3 separate regions of the Homo sapiens genome follow, and all the other regions are linked to region 2. Evidence: promoter capture Hi-C in human tissues and cell types (Jung and others, 2019). All regions are on one chromosome and are shown on one strand. The core of a region is centred on a gene start or on the middle of the fragment in contact, and the rest is flanking DNA. Distances in the headings are between cores, read along the strand shown. Region 1 overlaps CSE1L (chromosome segregation 1 like). Region 2 holds the start of ZNFX1 (zinc finger NFX1-type containing 1). Region 3 overlaps KCNB1 (potassium voltage-gated channel subfamily B member 1).

The links. The method cuts DNA at HindIII sites, captures the fragments that hold promoters and counts their contacts. A contact is called where the count stands out against the background at its distance.
Region 1: a contact is called between a fragment that was not itself captured here and the fragment with the promoter of ZNFX1 in region 2, in 2 of the 25 tissues and cell types used here (adrenal gland and heart right ventricle).
Region 3: a contact is called between a fragment that was not itself captured here and the fragment with the promoter of ZNFX1 in region 2, in 2 of the 25 tissues and cell types used here (aorta and dorsolateral prefrontal cortex).

What each region holds. Positions count from the first base shown.
Region 1 is chr20:49,095,201-49,098,587 of GRCh38, forward strand. It overlaps CSE1L (chromosome segregation 1 like), which reads left to right. Exons shown (of 25, transcript NM_001316.4): 25 at 1,149-1,749. The coding sequence ends at 1,238. Among named protein-coding and RNA genes, the nearest start is that of CSE1L, 51 kb to the left of the region's middle. The HindIII fragment of the contact is 5,127 bases long and covers 1-3,387 here.
Region 2 is chr20:49,276,765-49,280,218 of GRCh38, forward strand. ZNFX1 (zinc finger NFX1-type containing 1) reads right to left here and starts at 1,293. Exons shown (of 14, transcript NM_021035.3): 1 at 1,257-1,293. ZFAS1 (ZNFX1 antisense RNA 1) reads left to right here and starts at 1,414. Exons shown (of 4, transcript NR_036658.2): 1 at 1,414-1,952; 2 at 2,340-2,444. SNORD12C (small nucleolar RNA, C/D box 12C) reads left to right here and starts at 2,181; the gene lies at 2,181-2,259. RefSeq lists enhancers at 468-527, 869-1,369, 1,370-1,870, 1,628-1,922, 1,798-1,997 and silencers at 1,068-1,297, 1,348-1,707. The HindIII fragment of the contact is 7,798 bases long and covers 1-2,861 here.
Region 3 is chr20:49,467,555-49,471,030 of GRCh38, forward strand. All of the region lies in intron 1 of KCNB1 (potassium voltage-gated channel subfamily B member 1), which reads right to left. Among named protein-coding and RNA genes, the nearest start is that of KCNB1, 13 kb to the right of the region's middle. The HindIII fragment of the contact is 3,354 bases long and covers 450-3,476 here.

The sequences.
Region 1 (3,387 bases), core at 34-2,533, 180 kb before region 2:
CCTTCAATAGAAATGTAATAAGGCTGTATAGTTGCATTTTGTCAGCACTTTATAATAAGAGTTTATTTCCCAGATCGAAGTAATCCATCTATTATTAAAATGTGGTAGCATTTTTTTATTTTTATTTTTATTTATTTATTTTTTTAGACAGGGTCTCACTCTTATCCAGGCTGGAATGCAGTAGTACGATTATGGCTCACTGCAGCCTCAACCTCCCAGGTTCAAGTGATCCTACTGCCTGTCAGCCTTCCAAGTAGCTAGGACCCACTATGCCCAGCTAATTTTTTATTTTTTTGTGGAGACAGGGTCTCCCTATGTTGTTCAGGTTGGTCTCAACCTCCTGGGCTCAAGCCATCCTCCTCCCTCAGCCTCCCAAAGTGCTGGGATTACAAGTGTGAGCCTGGACACAGTTATTTTTTTTTAATTGCAGCATACTCAGAAATTAATAGATCATGGCATAAACCTAATAATGACTGTATAGTTGCATTTTGTCAGCACTTATTATAGAGTTCTTACATGTTACCTGATAAAATATATATTTTTCAAGCCAGACACAGTGGTTTATGCCTGTAGTTCTAGTGCTTTGGGAGGCCAGGGCTGCAGTGAGCTATTACAGTGCCACTGCAATCCAGCCTGGGCAACAGAGCGAGGTCCCGTTTCTTAAAAAACATATATGTGTGTGGCGTGTGTATATATATGTATATATATTTTTTCATTGTATTATTACGGAGACTTTCAAACATATATAGAAAGAGCATAATGAAGCCTGCATGTGCCCAGCTTCAATAATTACCAATATCTTGCCAGTTTTGTTTCGTTTCTCCTTTTATTCTCTGTATTGAGCAAGTCTTAGACATCATACGTTTCACGCGTAAGTACCTTATTCTACATCATTAACCAGTAAGGACTTTTTAATTAACCACAATACCACTATCACACCTAATAATAGTAATTCCTTATGGATCTTTTCTTTAGACCTATTTTTGAAGGCATAAAAGCAGTTGAGTTTCTGGAGAATTTTTGGATGGTGATTAATGACTTGACTGGCTGCTCTTCCCAGAGCTGTGGCAGCTCTCCCGTAGAAGATGGGGTTTGTATTGGCGCACCAAGATCTCCAACAGCCAGTGTGTGTTTCCCATCTCTTGTAGGTTCCATCAATGGTGAGCACCAGCCTGAATGCAGAAGCGCTCCAGTATCTCCAAGGGTACCTTCAGGCAGCCAGTGTGACACTGCTTTAAACTGCATTTTTCTAATGGGCTAAACCCAGATGGTTTCCTAGGAAATCACAGGCTTCTGAGCACAGCTGCATTAAAACAAAGGAAGTTCTCCTTTTGAACTTGTCACGAATTCCATCTTGTAAAGGATATTAAATGTTGCTTTAACCTGAACCTTGAGCAAATTAGTTGGTTTGTGTGATCATACAGTTATGTGGGTGGCTTCTAGTTTGCAACTTCAAGGGACAAGTATTAATAGTTCAGTGTATGGCGTTGGTTTGTGTTGAGCGTTTGCACGGTTTGGATAATCTTAAATTTTGACGGACACTGTGGAGACTTTCTGTTACTAAATCCTTTTGTTTTGAAGCTGTTGCTATTTGTATTTCTCTTGTCCTTTATATTTTTTGTCTGTTTATTTACGCTTTTATTGGAAATGTGAATAAGTAAAGAATTACTTGTGTTACTTGCCAAGCAGTGCACATTTCATAGTTTCAAATCTGTAATCAGCAATAAAAATCCTAAAATATGTACCTAAGAACATCTTAAGGGCAGGTTTTCAGTGCTCTCTCATGCTTTTATAAAAATGAAGAATTTCTTTAAATTTCTTCCTTTTCCTTTCCTGGACTCTGTAAAATCCTAATTTCTAAATCATGTAAACTCAGATTATTTAGTCTTTTTTTTTATATGGGGGAAGGGGACATTAATATAGATTTGGGGCTTATTTACTAGAATTTTCTGTAGCAGTTCCTAGGTGGCAGTGTGAGTTTTGGGTAGGTGGCTCCTCTGGGAGAAATGCTCTGCCTCGCTTAATGGGATGGCGGTCGAGAGTACTTGAGACTGTGGATGTTTTGATCTCTTTCATCTCTGCTGTTCCCTGGAGAGTGGAGGTTACTTGGAACTTTTCAAACCCTGACACCTTAGAACCGTGAAGTCCAGTCCAGTGGTGGATCCGGCCGGATGCCTGGTGAGCTTGGTTGCACTGGCTCCCTCCCTTGGCCTGGCCCATGGAATTGTACAGCATTCGTTTCTGAGGAATGAAGAATCAGAATATCTAAATTTTGTGAGGCACAGTTTATGCTGGAATTGTTCATTGTCCATTCAGTGTAGTTAAACTGGAACTTTTGTCTTCCCAGCTCAAGTGATTTGTCACAGGAGTTATCGATATCCCTTTTTTTTTTCTTTTTTACCCCCAAGATAAGAGTCTTGTTCTGTTGACCAGGCTGGAGTGCAGTGGCACAATCTCAGTTCACTGCAACCTCCACTTCCTGGGTTTGAGCAATTCTCCTGCCTCAGCCTCTCGAGTAGCTGGGATTACAGGCGTCCGCCACCACGCCCAGCTAATTTTTGTATTTTTATTAGAGATGGGGTTTCACCATATTTGTCAGGCTGGTCTCGAACTCCTGACCTCATGATCTGCCTGCCTCGGCCTCCCAAAGTGCTGGGATTACACGCGTGAGCCACTGTGCCTGGTGATAACTTTTTTAATCTTAGGCACTTGACTCGAATGGTTTTTCTTATTTTGAATTTTTTTTTTTTTTTTTTTTTTTTTTTTTGAGACGGAGTCTCACTCTTGCCCAGGCTGGAGTGCAGTGGCACAATCTCAGCTGACTGCAACCTCCGCCTCCCAGGTTCAAGCGATTCTCCTGCCTCAGCCTCCTGAGTAGCTGGGATACAGGCATGCATCACCATGCCTGGCTATTTTTTGTATTTTTAGTAGAGACAGGGTTTCACCATGTTGGCCAGGCTGGTTTCAAACTCCTGACCTTGTGATCCGCCTGCCTCGGCTTACCAAAGTGCTGGGATTAGAGGCTTGAGCCACTGTGCCCAGCCACTTGTTTCTGTAATGTTGCATGAGAAATTTCAAGTTCTCTTAAGTCTATTTGTACCATCTAGTCATTTAAGGGCTTTTTGTTGTTGTTGTTGTTGTTGTTGTTGTTGTTGTTGTTGTTGGTTTTGACACAGTAATGGGAATACTACATTTTACGTTATTACTTTGGCTTAAGTGGTCGTTGGTAGAAAGATACTGAAATATTACTGAAGCCATTTTTAAGCCACAATTTATTTGGAAAGTCTGGGACAACAGGGAATTGCTAGTGATGGTTTCTGTATGTTTTTCACTCACATGAGCTCCTTAAGTATTTATTTGGCTTTGCTCTTCCTGAAGCTGCTTGTG
Region 2 (3,454 bases), core at 43-2,542:
TTTGGCATTATATGAGGGGCAGCTTTTTTCCTCATCTGAAAAAGGAGTCTCTTTTCTTCCCCCTGGGAATATCTCTGGTGAGTCCCCTCCCTCATCTTATCAAACCCAGCCCTCCTGGCGCAGGCTCAGTATTTAGAGTTTGTTTGTTTATTTTCAATTCTCCGAGGGGAAAATTCCTTCTTCCCCTTGTTGAAAAATGCTAAAATAGAAACTCCAGAAAATTTAAAAGAAACGGAAGAAAAGAAAAAAAGATGTTAAAAAAAAGGCAAGGGAAGGAAGGGAGGAGTAGACATGAACAGGAAATGCTGGGATCGAAAACAGACTGAAGTGTTTTTTTTTGGTGGGGGGAATCAAGGCCTAAAGGGCACGAAGAAGAAAATCAGTGATGATCAAGCTGGCCTGGAGTCAGAATGAGAGGGGCTAGTCATCACCAGAGTGGGACGCAGGAGGCTGAGGTCGGAGGCAGAGCTGGGTTTGGGGGAAGTCTCCAGGGTCCTGGGGAATCCCTGACCCAGGGAGCCCACGGTCCCTAATGGAAATGTTATGGGGTCAGGGAGCGCCAAGGCTGTGAGGTGGCGGGGTTATGGGGGCCTTGGGGAGAGGGTGGTAGCGAGCACCAGGGGGTGCTTGCTGAGGACGGAGGCGGCGGGGTGGGGGCAGGGAGCAGGCTGAAGGGGGTGCCGAGGTGCTCTGTAGAAGAGGGGGATTGATAAGGTGACAGGAGGTGAGGCCGGAGGAATGAGGGGGGTGCGAGTGGCAGAAGGGAGGGCACAGACAGGGGTAGGGGCAGAGGAGATCGAAGTGCTGAGGGCAGAAGCGGTGACGGTGTCGGGGGTGCTGGGGAGAGCGACGGGCCAGCTGAGGGGATGGGGACACTAAAGAGAGTACAGGGGAGCCGAAGGGGCGACGGGGCGCTGAGATGGGCCAGGGGCTGAGTGGGTGACGGGGCGCTGAGTAGGCGATGGAGGTCTGGGGTCTGAGGGGGAGACGGGGCGCTGAGAGGCGCTCTGAGTGGGTGCTGATGCCGCTGGGGGCCAAAGAGGTGACAAGGCTCTGAGTGGGTGATGGGGGTCTGGGGATTGAGGGGGCGACGGGGCGCTGAGGGGCCAGGGGCTCTGAGCGGGTGACGGGTGCGTTGGGGGCTTGAGAGGGTGACAGGTCTTACGGGCAGAGGCAGTGGCGGGTCGGCGCGGGCGCCGGGGTTCGCGGCGAGGCAAGGAAGAATCAGGGGCAGGGGCAGTTGCGGGGCCACTCACCCGGCTCCGGCGCGTCCTTTCACTGCCGCCGGCGAGTGCTGGGGCTTCGGCCCAGGCAGGTCGGTGGCCCCGCCCGGCGCCGCGCACTTTCGGTTTCCGTTCCCCGCAGACCCTGGGCGGAGCCGGGCGGGCGGCCCAGAGGAGGAGAAGGAGGAGGCGGGGGCCCAGGGTGGAGAGCACGAGGGCCTGGCCCAGGCACGGCCGGCGCCTCCGCCCTCGAGGAGGGCGTCACCTCAGCTCCCCCCGGCGGCGGAGCCGGCGGGCTCAGGCGGGCGCGGCTGAGGGGAGCGGACCGCGGGGGGCGGGAGATGACTGCGCCCAAGGCCTTTGCGGGCCTCAGCCGGCCCCAGAGGAAGGGGAACCCGTCGAGCGGTTTGGTGCGTGTGAAGCGCGACATGGCGAGGAAGCGGACAAGCCCGGGTGGCCCGGCGTGTAGAGGGAAGGGGGCGGGGCTAGACGCGGCCTGGACAACTACTAGAGCGCCTCGGGCTGTGCTGCTCGAGACTACATTTCCCAGAGCGACGCGCGCGGAGCGGGCGGGAAAGAGAGCGTTTCGGGTCCAGTGCGCAGGTGCGAAAGCCATCTTTGGTTATATAAGGGAGGTTCAGGAAGCCATTCGTTCTTTCGCGTCTGCGGTGCCCGGAGTGTGGTACTTCTCCTAGTTGCAGTCAGGCTTCATACGCTATTGTCCTGCCCGTAAGTTCCCGTTTTGTGTGTGGTGAGTGGAAACTCCATGTTCTTCGTTGGAGACCTCTGGTCCTCCCTTCCCTTCTTTGTGCCGTCGTCTCTGCGGCCAGCCCTAATCTCCTTCTCGTGGCTTCTCCGTCTCTGACCCCAAATAGGCCTTAAGGGCGTGGGAGAAATGAGTTTCTGGAGCTGGAAAAGCCACTGCCTTCTGCACGGGCCTGAGAAGCCCTTGGCTGGTGTAAATGATGACTTCACTTTTTTCCCCATCAGATCGACAATGCTGACGTCTTATATTTTGCCAGTTAGTTCTGATACATCGGCCTCAAAAGGCCCGGCCTTGTTCGTTTCTGACCGTGGGAAGATGGCGGTTAACGCCCTTTATTTGTTGGTTCACAGGTTAGAGCAGCCAGCGGGTACAGAATGGATTTTGGAAGAGGGAGTCACCACTGGACCTCCAAGGAAGCCACGTGCAGACATCTACAACCTTCGATCTCCTGACGAGTAAGTCTTTGTCTCCTATGGGTCTACTGTAGAAAACACGTGCTTTGAGAAGCTTTAGTTTTCTAGGAAAACGTGGGATTTAACAAAGCACTTTCTATCGAGCATTTATTAGGTATTTAAAAAAGTGTTCTGACGGCCGGGCGCTGTGGCTGACGCCTGTAACCCCAGCACTTGGGGAGGCCAAGGCAGATGGGTCACCTGAGGTCAAGATTTGGAGACCAGCCTGGCCAACATGGTGAAACCCTGACTCTATTAAAAATACAGAAATTAGCTGGGCGTGGTGGTACGCGCCTGTAATCCCAGCAACTCACAAGGCTGAGGCAGGAGAATTGCCCGAACCCGGGCGGCGGAGGTTGTAGTGAGTTGAGATTGCGCCACTGCCCTACAGTCGGGGCAACAGAGCCAGACTCCGTCTCAAAAAAAAAAAAAAAAGAAAAACATGTTCTGAATGTTTTATTCTCACAGTTCAAATATTGGAACTAGGTTTCTGGTGAAGAAACAGGTTTAAGAGAAATGCCTGAAGTGAAAGAACCTTGTTAGTGAAGAGGCGTTTAACATTTTAATGCCACTTAAACATATTTTTGGATTCCATTCTTCCTGTGTGTTGGGGCGCTTAAATTTCCAAGTGGAGGGATGATTTATTGACATATTTTGGAAAGCCAAATGTGTTTTTCTGTTGAACTAGCCACTCAAACCAGTGCCCGACTACATAACTAATATTTTTGCTAGAGTCCAGGAGTGAGGCGTTTACAAAGTCTGGGCTTCATGGGAACACATGTGAAGCTTATTGTTCCAGATTGTTCTTTTGTCAGGTAACTTGTGGTAACTTGTGTTAAAATGCAATCTCTTGGTACTTGTTCACTTCCCAACTCAGTAAATGCCAACTACTTCCTCAACTCTTCCAGCCACACTGGCTTCTATCATGGGCCTGTACTCAGAGTGTAAGCACTGAAGACAGGGGTGTTTGGTTTGGCTACCAAGTTATTGCCAGCTACAGGATACAACACAGA
Region 3 (3,476 bases), core at 877-3,376, 190 kb after region 2:
TTGATGATCTGTTTTTAGAAACTGTTTGGTTCTAGGCCCATTACCTGGTGGATGTAAGTGATGGTGTGGAATTGGCAAATGCAATATTATTCTCTCAAAGACAGTGCCTGCCTGCCAGCCCATGGTGGGCAGTTGTGGTAGAAACCAGTCTCATTTCAGAGCAAAAATGGAGCAGCTGCCAGGTGCAGTGGCTCATACCTGTAATCCCAACACTTTGGGAGGCCAAGGTGAGAGGATTGCTGAAGCCCAGGAGTTTGAAACTGGCCTGGGTAACATAGGAAGACCCTGTCTCTACAAAAAAAGAGTACAAAAATTAGCCGGGTGTGGCGGTGGTGCACACTTGTAGTCCCAGCTACTCAAGGGGCTGAGGTGGGAGGATCATTTGAGCCCAGGAGGTCAAGGTTACAGTGAGCCATGATCGCGCCACTGCATTCCAGCCTGGGCAATAGAGCGAGACCTTGTCTCAAAAACAGTCAGGGTGTGAGGGAACACCTCAAGTGTCTAACTTAATTGTGTGTCTCCTCTCTGTAAATGGAAGGCAAAAGGCCACTTCTTTCTGCAGGCAGGTAGAGACAAGAAAGGTGGAAGGAGCAGGGTGTACCTGGAAGAGACCCTTACCTTTTAAGGAAGACCCCTCTGATCAGTCATCACAAGATCATGCACATTTGCTCATTTATTCACTCAACAAACGTTTACCAACACCTACCTGCAGTAACAATAGTAATAGTGAAATATACTGAACACCTGCTGAGTGCCAGGCACGGCTTGAGTGTTTCATATAGAATTTGCCCAACAACCCTGGTTGTTATGAGGCTTTCCAAATTACGGATCAGGACATTGAAACCTAGAGAAGTTATGTAATTCCCCAAAGGGCACACAGCTCAAAAGTGGCTGAGCTGGGATTTGAACCCAGGCAGTCAGGCTGCACAGCCTGCACGCTTAAGCTTTCCTGTTTCTCTGTAGGCCAGGCCTGGCATCCACAGAACAACCCACAAGTGAATTTTCACGATGTTTTGTGCGAGGAAGGTATGAACGTCAGGTTTCCGGTGCACAGAGGAGGGAGCAGTCAGTGCTGCCTGAAGGGAAGTGTAGGTGGTGGTAGGGGGGCGGGGGGTGGTTAAAGAAGGCTTCACAGAGGAGGTGGTGGGGAAGCTGGGCCTTGAAGGTGGAAAGAGAGAGGCTGCAGGCAGAGAAGAGGAAGAAATGGGTGCAAGGCAGAGGAACAGCTTGGGCAAGAGGGTGACCAGCGCTGAGGAAGGCTGGAGCTTTTGGGGGCATGCAGAAAGGTTAGTGTGGTGGTCGCAGAGGGTGTCTGAAGAAGGGATGGGGAGGAGATGAAGGTGGAGAGTTGGGTTGGGATGTCGAAAGCCAGGCTAAGGAGTGTGGACTATCCTGGGGGCAGTGGGAACTATGGAAGTTTTGGGAAGGGGGTGATGAAGTTGAGCAGACTGCATTTGAGAAAGTCGGCTCTGGCTGCTCTGCAGAGGTTGAACTGGATGGGAAAGGCTGGAAGCAGGGAGCCTATTCTGGGGCTCAGAGGCTCCCAGGAAGGGTCAGAGTTCAGCAGTGACCCACAAGGTCGCACCTCTGATCTCACCTCCTTCTACTCTCTTGCCTCCGGTACACTCTGCTCCAACCACATTAATACCTGAATGTTCCTTGAGTGCCCCAGGCACGTTCCTGTCCCAGGGCCTTAGCACTGCTTTTCTCTCCACCCAGAGCACTCTTCCCCCACATGCCCACATGCCTGTCTCCCTCCCTTTCTACTTGGCACCTTCTCCTTTCCTGACCAGCCTGGTTAAGCCCCAGCACTCCCCTCCTTCCCTGCAGAACTTTCTCCACAGTGCCATCCAAAATATTATATCAGGCCGGGCACGGTGGCTCACGCCTGTAATCCCAGCACTTTGGGAGGCCAAGGTGGGTAGATCACTTGAGGTCAGGAGTTTGAGACCAGCCTGGCCAACATGGTGAAATCCCATCTCTATTAAAAATACAAAAAATTAGCTGGGCATGGTGGCGGGTGCCTGTAATCCCAGCTACCTGGGAGGCTGACGCAGGGGAATTGCTTGAACCTGGGAGGCAGAGGTTGCAGTGAGCCGAGATTGAGCCACTGCACTCCAGCCTGGGCGACAGAGCAAGACTCTGTCTCAAAAAAAAAAAAAAACTACATAATTATTTGATCTTGTCATTTCGTCCATAAACACTTCAGTATGTGTATCTAAAAGATAAAGATTTTAAAACATAGTCGTAATAGCATTATCACATCTAAAAACACAGCATTCATTCCTCAATATCATCCAATATTCAGTTAGCATTCATCTTTCTTTCCCTGATTGTCTTACAGTCTCATGATTTATTTTGCATGGTTGTTTTGGTCCAATCAGTATCTGTGTTTATTTTTTTAACAGTCTTGCTCCTTCTTCTACTGGAATATCAGTGCCATGAGAGCTGGGATCTTTGTTTTGATCTCTGCTTTGTCCCCAGCACCCAGCACAATGCTTGACACATAGTAGGTGCTCAATAAGTTCCACTGAATGAATATACACAACCAATCCTGATAATAAAAGTTTGTTATTGACCTGTTGGGCATTATGTGTCTGTTACTGTTATTTGCCATAATTATCAAATCCTTACAATCTCCTTATGAGGTACGTGCTGTGATTAGGTCCATTTTACAGATGAGGAAACAGCTACGTGACCCAAGGACTCACAGCTTAAAAAAAGGCTAGGGCTTAAGACCCATTGCACAGCCTGAGGGTCTGTGACCACTGGTGGAGGCAGGGGCGTTGTGGCTTCCCAGGAGCTGCCTCCACACCTTACATCCAGAGTCCAGCCACTTTTCACCGATCTTCCCTGCCACCACCCTCTTCTGGGCTGTCATCTTTCTTCTCTTTCCTGGAATAATGCAATATCCTCCTGGCAGCGGCTTATCCCTTCTTTCTCTAATGTCCATTCTCCACTGCTAAACATCCTCCAATGCACAGGACAGCCCCACGGCAAAGAATTCTCCATCGCCAAATGTCAGTAGCACTAAGGTTGAGAAACTGGGCTCTGGTTGAAAAACCAGACACATTCTTCATCCAGAGCCTGGCATAAGCAGCTGAGAGTCAGACTTCTAGCAATGTGTTAGTAATAAGAGTGAAAGTCCCAAAGTTTGTAAACAAATTCCTTTTTCATCAATTAGTATTCTCAGTTATCTCTAGGATAACATCATTCATTCATTTATTCAATGCATGTATTTCATGCCTGCTCTATGGCAGGCACTGAAGACACAACAGTGGACAAAGCACACAAAATCCCTGCCCTTTGAAGCTTACATCAAAGTGGGAGAGAGAGAAAGGAATCATATAATTAAGTAATTATATGTCAGGTTGAAACAAATAAAGCAGCCATGGGGAATGAACAGTGCTATTTTATATGTGGTGGTCAAGGATGGCCTTGCTGAGATGACATTTGAGCTGAGACTTGAACAATGT